Regions from separate parts of the Homo sapiens genome. Here region 2 is linked to region 1. Evidence: promoter capture Hi-C in 16 types of primary human blood cells and fetal thymus (Javierre and others, 2016). All regions are on one chromosome and are shown on one strand. The core of a region is centred on a gene start or on the middle of the fragment in contact, and the rest is flanking DNA. Distances in the headings are between cores, read along the strand shown. Region 1 holds the start of TPPP3 (tubulin polymerization promoting protein family member 3). Region 2 overlaps KCTD19 (potassium channel tetramerization domain containing 19).

Region 1 (2,988 bases), core at 453-2,952:
GATCCGACCCCAGGTAGGAGGGACTGTGCTGGGCCTCCGGTCCAGGTGGAGTGGGATAGAAAGAAGCCTCTACCCTGGCGCTCGCCTCTGCTTCTTTTGGCGATGTGGGGCCCTCAGGCTCCCCCGTGTCTCTGCAGAAAAAGAGGAAGAGGCGCGTGTATAAAGTGCGAACGTCTGAGACCTCGGATCCGGCGTCGGGTGAGCGCCTCTCCCTGTCCGGGTCCTGCTCTGGGAACTCGAGGGAGGGGAAGGCAGAGCCACAAGCGAGCCGCAGCCACTGGGCTCATGTTCCCTTCCCTTGCGCAGGGCCTAGGGCCCCCAGCCGCCGCTCCAGCTCGTCGACGGATTCCGCGGACGCCAGCCCTGTGCACGCCGCTGGCCCTGCCGGCGCCTACCACTCGGCGTCGGCAGAGTCCGTGGACGAGATTCCAGTGGCGCAGACGCGCCTGGGCAGCGCCGCTCTGGCCGCCCCGCGGGGCCGGGGCCGACAGCCCACGCTGGCGCGGCAGGCGCGTGCGCCCGCCGTTTTCGTGAGCCCGAGCAGCGGCGAGCCCAGGGCGCCGGGCGGCCGGGAGGCTGGTCTGGCTTAGCTGGGCCGAGAGGCCGGAGGGCCGAGTTAGAGCGGCCGGCCTGACTCTCTATGCAACACCCCATCCTTGCCGCACCGAGTGCACTTTAGGGGCCCCTACGGCCGGCGGGATCGGCCTCCCTCCCCCACGACTCAGCAATACCCGCCCCACCGGCTGTGATGCTCCAATAAACTTTTTTATGCTTTTGCGGACGTCGCGCTTACTTTCTTAATGGCAGGGGCCACGGGCCATCCAGAAGCCCGACCCTGGCCAGTGGACCGGGGGCGGGGAGGAGGTCCCTGTATAGTAGGTAGCCACCCAGGCTGCCCTGTGGAGGTGCTCACGTGCGGCTCGTGGTTAGGAAAGGCCTTAGAAGGCGGCCTGGAGGAGGTTATTTTTCTTAAAGATGGGCTTTGCACTGGGAGGCCGAGAGAAAGCAGGCTTTGGGCTCCGAAAGCAGCAGTGGGCGCTGAGGCTGCGAGGCCGTGGGGAGGTGGCGGCGAAAGGAGGGGGCCGAGCCAGGAGGTCCCGCAGCTTTTCCCCGGCAGCAGGGCTGCCGTCGAATGCCAGCATCCTGGGGCTGGGCGAGCGCGATTCGCTCGTAGGGAGTCCCCTCCCTTCTTCCCCACTGCTCCAGGCTCTGAATCCTACCCAAGAGAGCACGGGAGTTGTGGCCTGGGGGTGCCATCCGTTCAGTGGATGGCAGTGCTCTTGAGTCAACCGTATACCCCTGTCACTGAGGGAGAGCTCCTTCCCGATTCCCCAAGCCCCACCAATGCCCCGCGCAGCTCCCCAGTGGCCTCTGGTTGACTCTCTGGGGAGCTGGATCTCTTCTGGAGATTGGGGCCGCTTAGAGCTTTAGGCACATCCCAGGATGGGAGGCTGTTTCCTCAGGGGGCCGTCCGAAGACGCCCCGAACTGCAGAGCGCTGGTCTCGCCGTCGCGAGGACCGCGGAGTTGCGGGGGAGGGGCGGGATGCGGCTCCCGGAGAGTCTCGGGGAGGGCGGGGCCTCGTGGGCGGGGCCGGCGTGACCTTGGTCACTCTCCCGCCGAGACAGCCTCGGGGGTGGGACTCGCCGTCTCTATGGAGACCGAGAAACAGGGGATAATACGGCGGAGCCGCCTGGGCTGCAGTCCCACCCGGGAGCCGGCAGGGAGCGGAGCTGCGGAGCCGCCTGGTCTCCCGCGTCCATCGGTCCATTCCTGCGTCGTTCTGTCCTTCCGAACGCACACTTCAGGAGCAGCCGCGAGGTAGAAGCCCATAGGAGACCCAGATGCCCGCCACCCCAATCAGTATCCTGCACGATGAGGGTTGGGGGGAGCAGCCTGGAAAGGGTCCCAACCTCCGGCGGTCCCAGCCGAGGAGCCAGCTGAGCGGCCCTGCCCTGGCCCCAAGCATTCCACCTCGCAGCCCCCACCTCCTGGTCCGGCTGATTGATGACTCCAGCTGTCCCAGTGGGAGCGGGACGGGTGGCTCCAGTTCACGGGTGTGGCCACTCCATCCATGGCCTGCAGACCCATGGGGCTGCGGCCTGCAACCCAGCGCCACCTGACCGCGCTGAGATGACCAAGAATCCATCTTTCCACGGACAGGAGTGAGCACTGCACGCAGGATCCGCCCAGTGCTTGGGCCAAGCACCCTGTGGCATCCAAGCTCCCCTGGACGTTACCCTTGGTGAACCAAGTGCGGGTCTTGGGGTCCCTGGTGGGAGGTTGCACCCAGGGAAAGGGAAGGGGAGTGCAGCGTGGACTGGGGTTATGGTCCCTGTAACGTAGGAACCACCGGTGCTCACAGTCCCAGAAACTGCCACTTAGGGATGGGAGTGTGGTCACTGGCGAGGAGTTTTTGGTGGAAGATGGGGCAGCCGGGCAGAGCCCAGGCCGTGGTCACTGGAAGCCCTAGTGTAAAAGGCAGAGCTAGAAGATGGTTGCTGAGACCGAGGGTGTGGTCAGGAGGTGGCAGTGGAGGAGGGGGATGTGGTGGGGAGGTCTCTACGCAGGGGATCTCCGCATAGTACCTGGGAGTCTTATAATGTTAGTGTGTGGATGTGGACTGGGGCCTTCAGTGCAGGCTGAGGGTGTGGCCAGAGGGCTGAGGGTGTGTGGACAAAGGGGTGCTGAGGGTCAGGGCGCCTTGATAAAGGGCTGCGGGTATTGGAGGGGGTGAGTGGCTGAGGCTATGGTCAGGGGTCTCAGGAAGGGATGCAGGTTTGTGGCCAGGGGCCTCAGCCCCAGGGCTGCGGGTGTGGGGATGGAGAAGGCTGCTGTGTAGGCTCAGGGTGTGGCCAGGGGTCTGCAGCGGAGGGCTGTGGGTGTGGGGGGCACTTTAGTGCTGGACTGTGGGTATTACTGGGGTTGGCGCAGGCTTGTTAGTATATATGTGGGGGCTGGTGGCCGAGGGCTGTGGCTGTGGGTGTGA
Region 2 (2,913 bases), core at 53-2,552, 100 kb after region 1:
ATGCACCACAATCAACCTCACACAGAAATCTGAAACCAAAGACCCTCCCGCCACTCCCATGCAAAAACTCATCTCCCTGGTGAGAGAATGGGACATGGTCAATTGCAAACAGTGGGAATTCCAGCCACTGACAGCCACACGGAGCAGCCCCTTGGAGGAGGCCACCCTGCAGCTCCCCTTGGGAAGCGAGGCTGCTTCCCAGCCCAGCACCTCAGCTGCCTGGAAAGCCCATTCCACAGCCTCAGAGAAGGATCCAGGACCACAGGCAGGGGCTGGAGCTGGAGCGAAAGACAAGGGGCCAGAGCCAACCTTCAAGCCATACTTACCCCCAAAAAGAGCTGGCACCCTGAAGGACTGGAGCAAGCAGAGGACCAAGGAGAGAGGTGAGTCCTGTCCCCCTTTGATCTAAGTCTTATTCACAACAGAGAAGGCAAACTCTTTGGCCAAGATGGCAGAGCAAGTTAGTGACAAAGGAGGACTAGACCCCCCCGCTCACCAATGCCATCTCTGTGCCAGGCAGCAGACACAGAAATGACTGGCACATTGGCATGGCTGGAGGGGCCAGGAGAACACACACGGCGAAGGGATGAGTGCTGTGGGAAGGAGGTGCCTATGAAGCAGGAGCACAAAAGAGGCTGAGGGCTGGGGAGTCAGCAGGGGAAGGAAGGAGAAGTCCAGGATGTTTGGAAGCGCAGGGCATGGGTCTAGCTGGAGGCCAGGCTTCACATGCAGACGTGATAAAAGATGAGGCTGAAGACAGAAGTCATAAGGACAGGCCTCGTGGGCCAGCTTCAGGACGTGGTACTCCATTCTGACCAGGATGGGAGTGAGCAGCGTCTGAAGGATTTTAGACAAGAGCACGGGGTCAGGTGTGCCCATCAGAAAGTTTGCTCCAGGAGCAGAGGAAATGCAGCAGGAGCTAGGTATTCGAAGCCACTTGGAGTTCTTTCTAGGCTAGGGGAAGCAGGCTAGGCAGGTAGTGGAGGGAAGGAGGGATGGGCCAAGGAGAAGCCAGGTTTCTAGCCTGTGGGACTGCAAGGGGGTGGATAGGCCCTTACTGAGGTGTGGGTAAGAGAAAGAGCAGAGCTTGGGGAAGGGCACATACTGAGTGTGAAATGCCGAGGGACATCCAGGTGGAGAAGCCCAGGAGACAGCAGGGGCTACAGGGACTGAACTGGAGAGAGAGCTTGTGTAGCCAGCTAAGGGAAGGTGGCCAGGGAACTGTGCTGAAAATCGCTGTGCCAGGATGCTGCCTCTGCTCCCTCAAAGCCCTGCCTGCAGTATTGTCACCTTCCCTATTAGTGGCTCCAGCCCTGCTTGGAGGGGCCTTCTTGGACTCTTGCCTGTGAGCCCTAAGTTGGTCTGTCAAGGTTGGGATGACAAATGTCCACTCTTTGGACATGCATCAAAGGCTGGCCCCAAAAGTTCTCAACTTAAAATTTTATAAAGATTTCCAGCCCTCAGCCCCATTTGATACGTCTTAGTTCAACAGAGGAATCTGGAGTTTCTTCGAGTTCCAAAATGTTCAGGATTTGGCTTGCAGTGATGCCAGGGCAATGAAGAGAGGAGTGGCCAGGACAGGCCCCTGCCAGCCCAGGGTGTCACTTCTGAGAAACTAGAGGTGGCAGCTGTTGCAAGGCTGGGGTGACTTGATTGTACTGGCCTGTCACCAGAGGTCCCCTTCCTGCTTGGGCTCTGAGGTGGCTTAAGGAGAGTCCCTGCTTATGAAGATTTGATGGTAATTGAAGAAAAGAATTTTAAAAGCCTGTGCGTGTGGCTCACGCCTGTAATCCCAGCACTTTGGGAGGCTGAGGCGGGTGGATCACCTAAGGTCAGGAGTTCGAGACCAGCCTGGTGAAACCCCATCTCTACCAAAAATACAAAAATTAGCCGGGCGTGGTGGCAGGTGCCTGTAATCCCAGCTACTCAGGAGGCTGAGGCAGGAGAATCGCTGGAACCTGGGAGGCAGAGGTTGCAGTGAGCCAAGATTGTGCCATTGCACTCCAGCCTGGGCAACAAAAGCAAAACTCTATCTTGAAAAAAAATTTTTTTTTAAAAGGAGAGCCCCCTCCCTATGTTGTTTTCACAGAAAGCCCTGCCCCTGAGCAGCCTCTGCCCGAGGCCAGTGAGGTGGACAGCCTAGGGGTTATCCTCAAAGTGACTCACCCCCCCGTGGTGGGCAGCGATGGCTTCTGCATGTTCTTTGAGGACAGCATCATCTATACCACGGAGATGGACAACCTCAGGCACACAACACCCACAGCCAGTCCCCAGCCCCAAGGTGAGGCTCTGGAGCCAGGCCGAGCCCTGCGCCTCCTCGTGAGGATGCCTGAGCCCCCTCCCAGGGTACTTCAGGCAGAGACAGTGGCCCCTGGGGGCCCTACCCCTCTCCCCCTCCTCACACTGTCTCTAAGGCCCTAGCTATTGACAGATGTGGCCACATCCACTTTCCCTCCTCCACAGAAGTGACTTTCCTGAGTTTCTCTCTGTCCTGGGAAGAGATGTTTTATGCACAGAAATGTCACTGCTTCCTGGCTGACATCATCATGGATTCCATCAGGCAAAAGGACCCCAAAGCCATCACAGCCAAGGTGGTCTCCCTGGCCAATCGGCTGTGGGTATGTGTGACAGGCCTCAGGCCCTGGGGCACCCTGTACCTTCTCCACCTCTTCCCCTGCCCCACAATAAGTGGTGCAAGGCAAGAGGAAGTAAGCCAAGATGGGGTTAAGGAGAAGGCCAGGGCCAGAAGAGTGGTGGGACAGGGAGGCAAGCAGAGCAGTTGCACCTGGACTGAGCCTCGGCCAAGAGGCAGATTTGCAGTGACAGTGCCCGCCCCCTACCCCTGTGGCTCTGTGGGCCCAGAGAAGTCCCCGCTCTGCATCTCACTCTGAGGGGCTAGGAGCTGCCCTAGCA

Evidence for each region. The method cuts DNA at HindIII sites, captures the fragments that hold promoters and counts their contacts. A CHiCAGO score of 5 or more calls a contact.
Region 2: a fragment that was not itself captured here is called in contact with the fragment with the promoter of TPPP3 in region 1 in 1 of 17 cell types (endothelial precursors); the score reaches 5.6 in endothelial precursors.

The regions. Positions count from the first base shown.
Region 1 is chr16:67,392,212-67,395,199 of GRCh38, reverse strand. It overlaps TPPP3 (tubulin polymerization promoting protein family member 3), which reads left to right and starts at 1,702. Exons shown (of 4, transcript NM_015964.4): 1 at 1,702-1,820. It overlaps ZDHHC1 (zDHHC palmitoyltransferase 1), which reads left to right. Exons shown (of 12, transcript NM_001323627.2): 10 at 1-13; 11 at 138-198; 12 at 307-1,048. The coding sequence ends at 590. The HindIII fragment of the contact is 5,780 bases long and covers 1-2,988 here.
Region 2 is chr16:67,291,014-67,293,926 of GRCh38, reverse strand. KCTD19 (potassium channel tetramerization domain containing 19) reads left to right here. Exons shown (of 16, transcript NM_001100915.3): 12 at 1-383; 13 at 2,090-2,281; 14 at 2,464-2,618. Among named protein-coding and RNA genes, the nearest start is that of PLEKHG4, 13 kb to the right of the region's middle. The HindIII fragment of the contact is 4,060 bases long and covers 1-2,913 here.